3 separate regions of the Homo sapiens genome follow, and regions 2 and 3 are each linked to region 1. Evidence: promoter capture Hi-C in 16 types of primary human blood cells and fetal thymus (Javierre and others, 2016). All regions are on one chromosome and are shown on one strand. The core of a region is centred on a gene start or on the middle of the fragment in contact, and the rest is flanking DNA. Distances in the headings are between cores, read along the strand shown. Region 1 holds the start of CFLAR-AS1 (CFLAR antisense RNA 1). Region 2 overlaps HYCC2 (hyccin PI4KA lipid kinase complex subunit 2). Region 3 overlaps HYCC2 (hyccin PI4KA lipid kinase complex subunit 2).

What was found. Contacts are between HindIII fragments. The CHiCAGO score rates a contact against its expected background, and 5 or more counts as called.
Region 2: a fragment that was not itself captured here is called in contact with the fragment with the promoter of CFLAR-AS1 in region 1 in 8 of 17 cell types (neutrophils, erythroblasts, activated CD4 T cells and 5 more); the score reaches 18.0 in neutrophils.
Region 3: a contact is called between a fragment that was not itself captured here and the fragment with the promoter of CFLAR-AS1 in region 1, in 12 of 17 cell types (neutrophils, erythroblasts, megakaryocytes and 9 more). The highest score is 17.3, in neutrophils.

What each region holds. Positions count from the first base shown.
Region 1 is chr2:201,156,006-201,159,742 of GRCh38, forward strand. CFLAR-AS1 (CFLAR antisense RNA 1) reads right to left here and starts at 1,787. Exons shown (of 7, transcript NR_040030.1): 1 at 1,750-1,787. All of the region lies in intron 8 of CFLAR (CASP8 and FADD like apoptosis regulator), which reads left to right. RefSeq lists enhancers at 2,086-2,165, 2,186-2,515. The HindIII fragment of the contact is 4,248 bases long and covers 73-3,737 here.
Region 2 is chr2:201,040,581-201,044,317 of GRCh38, forward strand. All of the region lies in intron 2 of HYCC2 (hyccin PI4KA lipid kinase complex subunit 2), which reads right to left. Among named protein-coding and RNA genes, the nearest start is that of HYCC2, 29 kb to the right of the region's middle. RefSeq lists enhancers at 2,088-2,599, 2,600-3,112. The HindIII fragment of the contact is 7,101 bases long and covers 1-3,737 here.
Region 3 is chr2:201,064,195-201,067,931 of GRCh38, forward strand. All of the region lies in intron 1 of HYCC2 (hyccin PI4KA lipid kinase complex subunit 2), which reads right to left. It also overlaps the pseudogene HNRNPA1P35 and the pseudogene RPL23AP30. Among named protein-coding and RNA genes, the nearest start is that of HYCC2, 5.6 kb to the right of the region's middle. The HindIII fragment of the contact is 2,230 bases long and covers 511-2,740 here.

The DNA.
Region 1 (3,737 bases), core at 537-3,036:
GCCTTGGCCTCCCAAAGCACTGGGATTATGGCCATGAGCCACCACGTAATCTTTGTTTTATGCGTATTTATAAGCTTTGCTTCCCCAACAAGATTATAAGCTCTTTGATTGAAGTACATCATATATTTGATATGTATTCTCTTGTCCAAGTGTTTCTGTAGGCAATAAGGGGAACTTTGTAAAACAAGAGTTTTCCGGTCAAGTAAATTTGAGAAGCGCTGCCTAATCTCTTCCCCCTCAGAGATTTGCAATGCATATTGACCTATTAAAGGCTCTGAGAATTCTTCCTGCGAAGAAACCTATTTTAGCCTTGTCCACCTTGCATTTCCCAAACACGTTTGACCTCAGAACTCCCTTTTTCACTAAGAATGTTTTGCCCATCTTATGTTTTACCCATGTGCTCTATAGCAGTTAACACTGGGCTTATTAAAGGTACTCAATATGTGATTGTAAATTAACTGGTGAAGCATTCCCTCATTCTTGTTTATTTTATACATTTATTTAATGAAGCCCTTTTCATAGAAATTGTCAAGATAAATGTATCCTCATTTAGATCAAAACAAATTCTAAATTAATGAAGTCATGACATTTTACTGTATTTTGGTTTTTTTGGTTTATCTGTGAAGTCCTCAAACCTGTGAGTAGTGCTGACCCTAGCCTTGAATGAACAGCCCTGTACTAACTGCAAGGCCAGAAGAACCCCTGCCCTTCCCCTCCCCACCCCCCCACATCATTTCCAGAAGTTCTAAAGAACAGTTGAAATTTACGGAGATCAGACTGGGTTGAGTGTGGGATTTCCAGGGTGGGTTCTAGAAGGAGAAGTGGGTCTTCTGTAGTTTGTTGAAATTTTATTTTCCAAACCCAGCCCCCAAGTTTTTCTTCCTCTATTTATGTGCAAGGACAAAACAGTTACTGTCCTACCTACATAGGATATGGACTCTGTCTGCTCTGAGCCCATTTTAGTTTAGAATATAGAGACCTCCCTCCAGGTCCTAAGAGAGAGATTCCATGAGAGATGTGCAACACCATAAGGTTGGTGATTTGTACTTTGAAATGGCTGCCTTTATTTCCTTTAAAGTCAATATCTTATATTTGAATAAACACAGTTTGCAAAGCATCTTTACAGAAATCTCATTGGATCCTCACGGTCACCTTTTTTCTGAGACAGAGTCTCACTCTTTCACCCAGGCTGGAGTGCAGTGGAGCGATCTTGGCTCCTCCACTTCCTGGGCTCGAGTGATCCTCCTTCCTTAGCCTCCCAAGTAGCTGGGACCACAGATGCGTGCCACCATGCCCAGCCAATTTTTGTATTTTTGGTAGAGATGGGGTTTCGCCATGTTGCCCAGGCTGGTCTCAAACTCTGCAGCTCAAGCAATCCACCCGCCTTGGCCTCCCAAAGTGCTGGGATTACAGGTATGAGCCACTGTACCCTGCCCTCACAGTCACCTTTTGAAGAACCTCCTGCTCAAGAGATCCTCCTGCCTCAGCCTCCTGAGTAGCTGTGATGACTACAGGCTTGTACTACCATGCCTGGCTAGTTTTTTTATTTTTTGTAGAGACGGGGTTCCCTGTGATGCCCAGGGTGGTCTCAAACTCCTGAGCTCAAGCCATCCTCCCACCTCAGCCTCCCAAAGTGCTGGGATTGTAGGTGTGAGCCACTGCACCTGGCCAAGCATTAGTTTTAATCTTGTTTTATAGATGAATAAACTGGGGCTGACTCAAACTGACTCAAAGTCACACTGTCATTACCTTTTTGATCCTGTACGTTAGACTGGGCTGTATGCATGTTCTTGCTGGCGCAATAAAGTTGCAAGTGCCAGCTAACAGCCCTTCCCACTCCACCTCACCACCTCATAGAGGAAAATTGTGACGTTAATGGGAAATGTCAGCGGTAATGTCTTCAGGCTGGGCCTGTGGAGTGACTCCCTTGCCACAGGATATTTAAGCAATGCTGTGTCTTGTCTGAGGCTCAGACCTGCTATTCTTATTGGCACTTGGGACCTGCATGGTTTTTGGCTTCACCTCCAGCTTTAGCCATTTTTCTTCTGTTCTTTTAGGTAAGGATTTTCTGCCCCAGACCTCAGATTCCCATTTCCTTCCTAGCTTCTCTGCTGTTATAGCTCAGTCTCTTCCAAGACCATGCAAGATTCAGACCCTAGTAGGAGGAGATGGAGGAACTAGGACTTAAACCCACATCTTGTGATTCCAAGGCTGGTTCCTCTTTTGCCCTGCACCACACAGCTGTCTGCTCACAGTCATGTGACAGGGGCTTCCCCAGCCAGAACCTCCAGGGAGCACAAATAAAGGAAAGAGCTGGAAGGCACAGTACAGCATTTGTTCTGTCCAAGCCTTACATATCAGCATGGGCAGGGAGAATGTGGTGAAGTTTTCTTTCAAGGACTTTGTTTGATAAGGAAGGACATTTATCAGTGAAGAGAGGTTTTGAGGGAAGTGAACCAATCTTGAGATAAGTACACAAAAGAGCTTTGAGTCTGGTGTTTCCCTGTTTGCTTCTGCCCCCTGGAGGAGCAAATACTCCATGATTAGAGACGTGTGAGTCCTTTGGAATAGAATAGCAGTGATGGAACTGGAGTCCTAGTCCAGGTTCTCTCCTTGTTCAGCCTGGATTCAGCACTGGGTATCGAAACAAGCCTGCACCCTCAGAGGAGATGGCTAGGGGACAGTGCGTCCAGGCCTCTTCTACCACACAGAGTTTTCTTTTTTTTATAAAGGGTATACACATTTAAAATTTAATGATACTCCCAAATTGCTCTTCAAAAAGGCTGTGCAAAATTACAGTCCTGATAACAGCTACCCAGAGATCCTGTAACGGCATTTGCCCTCATCATTATTATTATTATTATTATTATTATTATTATTATTTGAATTTGAGACGGAGTTCTGCTCTGTTGCCCAGGCTGGAGTGCAGTGGCGCAATCTTGGCTCACTGCAACCTCTGCCTCCCGGGTTCAAGCAATTCTCCTGTCTCAGCCTCCCTAGTAGCTGGGATTACAGGTGAGCACCACCACGCCTGGCTAATTTTTGTATTTTTAGTAGAGACGGGGTTTCACCATATTGGCCAGACTGGTCTCGAACTCCTGACCTCAGGTGATCTGCCCGTCTCGGCCTCCCAAAGTGCTAGGATTACAGATGTGAGCCACTGGGGCTGGTTGCCCTCACTATTTAATGGGTTATTTGCAACCTGTGAATCATGTCTCCTATTTCCTTGTTAATGATGCTTATTGATTATAGACTTAGGAATATCAGCACCTCCTTTGTAGCTCTTCATTCTTACATGATATAATAATTAATTTTTTTTTTTGAGACAGAGTCTCACTCTGTTGCCCAGGCTGGAGTGCAGTGTCACAATGTTGGCTCACTGCAACCTCCACCTCCTGGGTTCAAGCGATTCTCCTGCCTCAGCCTCCTGAGTAGCTGGGACTACAGGTGCGTGCCACTACACCTGACTAATTTTTGTATTTTTAGTAGAGACAGGGTTTCGCCATGTTGGCTAGGCTGGTCTTGAACTCCTGACCTCAGGTAATCTGCCCGCCTCAGCCTCCCAAAGTGCTGGGATTACAGGTGAGCCACTGCGCCCAGCCAATAATTCATTGTTTAATCCTTAGTTGTGGGCCAAGCAAAGGAGAAAAGTAAGAAGCCTTTTCCTTTTACCGATAGGAAAGGTCAAAGGACTTACCTGGTGAATTATTTACCTAAAAATGTATACAAATCACTCC
Region 2 (3,737 bases), core at 659-3,158, 120 kb before region 1:
CAGATTCAAGCAATTCTGCCTCAGCCTCCGAGTAGCTGGGATCACAGGCATGCACCACCATATCCGGCTAATTTTTTTATTTTTAGTACAGATGGGGTTTCACCATGTTGGCCAGGCTGGTCTCGGACTCCTGACCTCAAGTGATCCACCTGCCTCAGCCTCCCAAAACGCTGTGATTACAGGCGTGAGCCACTGTGCCCAGCCTCATAATTGCTTCTGCATTCAATCTGTTGCAGAAAAACCTCACTGTATATTTATGACAGAATGACAGTGAAGATGGCAAATACTGTCTTTATATTAATATGAAAAATAGTTTTGACCTTATGGACCCCCTTAAAGGATCCTGAGGATCACATTTTGATCACAAACCCTGGAGCAAGGTTGCCTAAGGTTAAGGTCACTTACTAGCTATGTTTAAACCCTTGTACCCTCTTACTAGCTATACTCAAACCCGCTGTCCCTCATTTCAAAACTGGGAATAGCGGTACCTACTTCATATAGTTTTTGTATACTTAGAACAGTTCTTATCACAAGATAAACATTACATAAGTGTTTGCTATAAGCATTATATAATCTCCATGATACTATGTCCTATGAAGTAGCTTGTTATTCTCATCTAATAGATAAGAAAATTAAAGTGTAAATGGGTGTGTGACCTATACAAGGTAACACAGTTTAAGTGGCAGAACTCAGATTTGAATCTAATGCCATAATTTTGAAATCTATGATTGAAAAAGGCACTATGCAATCTGGTCCCTGTCTTATGGTTCATACTACTCTCCCCACAGCTTTCTATGTTCTGGCCATACTCTCCTTTGAGTTTCTCTACAGCTTTACGTGCACCTTAACTCCAGCACATCTGTGCAGGCTGTTCCAGCCTAGAATGCTGTCCTGCTCCTGCTACTTAAGTGGCTGGCTCCTTCTGATCTTGTAAGTCTCAGCAGCCTTTCTGAACCACTTTATGTAAATAGCAGCTCTTCTTCCATTCCCCAGTATTTTCCATTCCAACACAAGATTTATTTCCTGCCTAGAACTTCGGGGTTTGTAACTTCTTTATCAGACCTCATTACTTACTAATTGTCCATCTCCCCACTGGATTGTAAATTCCAAGAGAACAGGGTACATTTTTGCATTGCTCACTACTATGCATTCAAAGCTAACAAAGATACTATGATTTCTGGATGTAAGACGGGTACTTAAAAAACATATATATAGTCAATGAACCATACTGTTTATATGTCCTCAGACAACTCATTTAAACCCTTTGGGCTTCAGTTTCCTACAATGATTAGTTATTTTCCAACTCTAAAATCCTAAAAATATATTTTAGTACCTTCATTTGAAAAATAGAATAGTCTCTCTCCCCCTCCCCCTCCCCTTTGCACGGTCCTCCTCTCCCCTTTGCACAGTCTCCCTCTGATGCCGAGCCGAGGCTGGACTGTACTGCCGCCATCTCGGCTCACTGCAGCCTCCCTGCCTGATTCTCCTGCCTCAGACTGCCAAGTGCCTGGGATTGCAGGCACATGCCGCCACACCTGACTGGTTTTCGTATTTTTTGGTGGAGACAGGGTTTCGCCGTGTTGGCCGGGCTGGTCTCCAGCTCCTGACCGCGAGTGGTCTGCCAGCCTCGGCCTCCCGAGGTGCCGGGATTGCAGACGGAGTCTCGCTCACTCAATGCTCAATGTTGCCCAGGCTGGAGTGCAGTGGCGTGATCTCGGATCGCTACAACCTACACCTCCCAGCCGCCTGCCTTGGCCTCCCAAAGTGCTGAGATTGCAGCCTCTGCCCGGCCGCCACCCCATCTAGGAAGTGAGGAGCGTCTCTGCCCGGCCGCCCATCATCTGGGATGTGGGGAGCACCTCTGCCCCACCGCCCCGTCTGAGATGTGAAGAGTGCCTCTGCCCCGCCGCGACCCCGTCTGGGAACTGAGGAGTGTCTCTGCCCCGCCGCCACCCCGTCTGGGAGGTGAGGAGCGTCTCTGACCAGCCGCCCCGTCTGAGAAGTGAGGAGCCCATCCGCCCAGCAGCCGCCCCGTCTGGGGGAGCCCCTCCGCCTGGCAGCCGCCCCATCCGGGAAGTGAGGAGCGTCTCCGCCCGGCAGCCGCCCAGTCCGGGAGCTGGGGGGCAGCCCCCGCCCGGCCAGCCGCCCCGTCCGGGAGGTGGGGGGCAGCCCCCGCCCGCCGCCCCGTCTGGGAGGTGGGGGGCGCCTCTGCCCAGCCACCCAGTCTGGGAAGTGGGGAGCCCCTCTGCCCGGCCGCCACCCCGTCTGGGAGGTGGGGGGGCCCCTCTGCCCGGCCGCCCCGTCTGGGAAGTGAGGAGCCCCTCTGCCCGGCCGCCACCCCGTCTGGGAGGTGTACCCAACAGCTCATTGAGAATGGGCCATGATGACAATGGCGGTTTTGTGGAATAGAAAAGGGGGAAATGTGGGGAAAAGAGAGATCAGACTGTTATTGTGTCTGTGTAGAAAGAAGTAGACATAGGAGACTCCATTTCGTTCTGTACTAGGAAAAATTCTTCTGCCTTGGGATGCTGTTAATCTATAACCTTACCCCCAACCCCGTGCTCTCTGAAACATGAGCTGTGTCCACTAAGGGTTAAATGGATTAAGGGCGGTGCAAGTTGTGCTTTGTTAAACAGATGCTTGAAGGCAGAATACTCCTTAAGAGTCATCACCACTCCCTAATCTCAACTACCCAGGGACACAAACACTGCGGAAGGTGGCAGGGCCCTCTGCCTAGGAAAACCAGAGACCTTTGTTCACATGTTTATCTGCTGACCTTCCCTCCACTATTGTCCTATGACCCTGCCAAATCCTCCTCTCCGAGAAACACCCAAGAATGATCAATAAATACTAAAAAAAAAAAAAAAAAGAAAGAAAAATAGAATAGTACTGGTTACAGAGAAATTCTGTAAACATATATTTTCTTTTTTTCTTTTTTTTTTTTTTGAGACAGAGTCTCACTCTGTTGCCTAGGCTAGAGTGCAGTGGCGTGATCTCAGCTCACTGCAAGCTCCGTCTCCCAGGTTCACGCCATTCTCCTGCCTCAGCCTCCCGAGTACCTGGGACTACAGGCGCCTGCCACCATGCCTGGCTAATTTTTTGTATTTTTAGTAGAGACAGGGATTCACTGTGCTAGCCAGGATGGTCTCGATCTCCTGACCTCGTGATCCACCCGCCTCAGCCTCCCAAAGTGCTGGGATTACAGGTGTGAGCCACCGCGCCTGGCCAAACATGTATTTTCTAACCAGGCACAGCACTCTTAGTACATAGAGATATCTACAGAGCACAGCTACAAATAGACTGCAAGCTATCTTTTATTTTTTGAGATGGGGTCTCGCTATCTTGCCCCAGCTGGTCTTGAACTCCTGGGCTCAAACAATCCTCCCACCTCAGCCTCCTGAATAGCTGAGATTACAGCATACGCTACAGTGCCTGGACTTGCAACCTTTCTGTTTATCTAACCATAAAATATAAAATTCTGAAGATCATTTCTCCTACTGTATATTACATCACCTGGTAAAAACTATACTTAAAAGAACTCAAGCTGATATTCCAGCATGCAGCTTAATTCAGATCCATACTGCCTTAGTTCCAGAATGTATAACAAAGAGGCTATCACAGAAAATGACTATCTTTATGATAACTATGACAATGATGACCTTTTTATTATTAATAGTATTACCATTATTTAGAGATGAGTTCTTGCTACATTGCCCAGGCTGGTTTTGAACTCCTGG
Region 3 (3,737 bases), core at 376-2,875, 92 kb before region 1:
TGTGTATGGGCAAAAAACTCGAGGACTGTATTTGTGACTAATTGTATAACAGGTTATTTTAGTTTCTGTTCTGTGGAAAGTGTAAAGCATTCCAACAAAGGGTTTTAATGTAGATTTTTTTTTTTGCACCCATGCTGTTGATTGCTAAATGTAATAGTCTGATCGTGACGCTGAATAAATGTCTTTTTTTTTAATGTGCTGTGTAAAGTTAGTCTACTCTGAAGCCATCTTGGTAAATTTCCCCAACAGTGTGAAGTTAGAATTCCTTCAGGGTGATGCCAGGTTCTATTTGGAATTTATATACAACCTGCTTGGGTGGAGAAGCTATTGTCTTCGGAAACCTTGGTGTAGTTGAACTGATAGTTACTGTTGTGACCTGAAGTTCACCATTAAAAGGGATTACCCAAGCAAAATCATGGAATTATTGGTTATAAAAGTGATTGTTGGCACATCCTATGCAATATATCTAAATTGAATAATGGTACCAGATAAAATTATAGATGGGAATGAAGCTTGTGTATCATCCATTATCATGTGTAATCAATAAACGATTTAATTCTCTGGAAAAAAATCTTCTGTGTATCTGCTCATTTAATCCTAACAATTCTTCTTAAAAACTTTTAATTTTGAAATTATAGACTCACAGGAAGTTGCAAAAAAAACTGCCAACAGGTCTCATGTACCCTTTGCCCATTTTCCCTCAATGGGAACACCTTGAATAACTACAGTAAAATATCAAGACCAGGAAATTGACATTGCTACAGTCTACAAAGTTTACTCAGATCTAACCAGTTTTACAAGCACTCATGTATACGTGTGTGTATAGCTCTATGCAATTTTATCACATAGGTAGACTCATGTAATTACCATCACAATCAAGATACAGAACTGTTCTGTCACCAAGACACTCTTGTAGTCCCACCCACTCCCCTCTCCTTGATACCTAAACCATGGCAACCACGAATCTGTTCTCTATCTCTTTATTTTTAGTATTTCAAGAATGTTATATAAATGGAATCATGGAATATGCAATTTTGAGATTTTTTTCACTTGAGACCCATTCAAGTTGTTACATTTTATTAACAGTCCATTCCTTTTTATTGCTGCATAGCAGTCCATGATATAGATGCACTATAGTCTATTTAACCTGTTGAAGAACATTTAGGTTTCCAGTTTTTGGCTATTAGGAATAAAGATGCTATGAGAATTCACACAGGTTTTTATATGAATGTAAGTTTCAGTTTCTCTGGAACAAATGCCCAAGACTGCAATTGTTGGCTTGTATAACTCTATTTCTAAAGATAAGGACACTGAGATGTAAATAGCGGAGCTAGGATTCTAATCTAGATAGTTGCCTCTAGGCCCTAATTCTTCATAATATTTCTAGCAGCTACAGAAATTGAGAGAAGTAAATGGAATCAAAGAAAGAGTAAGAAGGTAAAGTCAACAGAACCTAGCATTGCTCAGATGAAGCGTAAGGGTTAAAGATAGATAACATCAGGGTTCCAGCTCCAGCAGGTTAGAAAGATGACAAAAGGGAAAACATGAATTCACTTTTAAACATATTATAGTTGAAGGACCTGTAGCTCATCTTCATCTAGCAGGCAATTACATGTATAGAATAGGAACTAAAGTTAAAGGGAAAGCTCTGGATTAGAGACACAGATTGAGAACCATCATATTTGGATGCTAATTAAATAAAAAAATCACAGAGTAACAAAGCATAAAATGAGAGAAGATTCAGAACCTTAAGGAACAGAAACATTTGAGTCTTAAGTTTTATATTCATTTCCCCTAGTATTTTCCATAAATAGCAGATACTGTAAAATACTGCAAATTCAAATTAACTTTAGATTTTATAAAAGCCCTTCATGTTTTCTTTTCTTTTTTTTTTTTCTTTGGAGACAGAGTCTCACTTCATCGCCCAGGCTGGAGTGCACACAATCTTGGCTCACTGCAACCTCCACTTCCTAGGTTCAAGCAATTTTCCTGCCTCAGCCATTCCAGTAGCTAGCACTACAGGTGTGCACCACCGTGCCCAGCTAACTTTTGTATTTTTAGTAGAGACAGGGTTTCACCATGTTGGCCAGGCTGGTCTCGAAATCCTGACCTCAAGTGATCTGCTCACCTCGGCCTCCCGAGATGCTGGGATTACAGGCGTGAGCCACTGTGCCCAGCCACTATGTTTTCTATTTGAGTCTTACAGTCACCCTATAATGTAGAAAGGACAGTAGTATACTCTCTCCCATCCCCACACCTTTTTTCATTTAAAAAGTATAAACTAATAAATAAATAAAGAACGAATACACAGATTAAAAAGCCCCAATACAAAAGAATATGGAAAAATTATAACTTTCAGTACCTGCTCAGTATCTAACTTGCCTCTCTCATCCATTTTATATATAATATGGAAAGGAATTTAAGGAGGTTAATTGGCAAGTCTTAGTAGCTAACAAGTCTATATTAATTAAGAATCAGGGAGACTGTTTTCACAAGATAGTGCCGAAGGCGAAAAAGGAAGCTCCTACCCATCTTAAAGCAGAAGCCAAAGCAAAGGCTTTGAAGGCCAAGAAAGCAGTGCTGAAAGGCTGAAAGTAGTCATAAAATATGGTAAGTGGCATCAAACACATACACAAAAAAAGAAGATCCGCAAGTCACCCACGTCCCGGTGGCCCAAGGCACTGCAGCCCCATAGGCAGCCCAAATATCCTTGTAAGATAGCAGGATACAAGGAGAAAGAAGCTTGACCACTATACCATCATCAAGTTCCTGCTGACCAGAGTTCACCATGAAGAAGATAGAAGACAACATATTTGTGTTCATTGTGGATGTTAAAGCCAACAAGCACCAGGTCAAATAGGCTACAAAGAAGCTCCATAACATTGATGAGCCAAGATCAAGACCCTGATCAGACCTGATGAAGAGAAGAAGGCTTATGTTTGACTGGCTCCTGATTATGATGCTTTGGAGGTTGTCAACAAAATTGGGATCATCTAAACTGAGTTCGGCTGGCTAATTCTAAGTATATATATTAGTATCTTCTCACCAGAAAAAAAAAAAGAATCAAGCACTATCAACAGTTAAGTATTCAAAATGACAAAGGTGATGGATAAATTTGATTCTAACACTGTTTGAAGTTTCATGTGTCAAAATAGGACAAAACAGATATTCTGTAAACCATGCTTTGCCATTCAATAAATTGATGCCACTTACCATATTTTATGACCACTTTTTTGGCAGTTATATTTCAAACCTAGAAAGTACTATAATTCTATAAATAATCAAAGTCACACCTCTTAATATATTACATAATTGAGTTTTTATGCTTTTCTCTAAAATTAAAATCTACTCATACTTTTTCTCAGATTTGTCTCCATGGCAGCCAGATACCCAAACAGAAAGTCTAGAATTCACAAAGATGAACCGTAAGTTTCTAAACTGGACCCAAGTCAAGGTAAACATATTTGCAATGCCAACTTTTAGTATATATTACTGAGTGAATGTTAATGCAAAGATTAATGCATATATTCATCATATAGCATTATCAGAAAAGGACCTTGAATTACTCCAACTCTTATTTTCCAATTTTAGTTTAATTCTAGAACTAGATAGCTTTCAGGGACAGTAAGAGAATAGGATATAAATGTCTATACAAATTAGCACAGGTCTGAATCATGAAATAAATTAGTTTGATTTATGGAAAGCAGCTAAGTGCCAAGTAAGAACTAATCCAAACC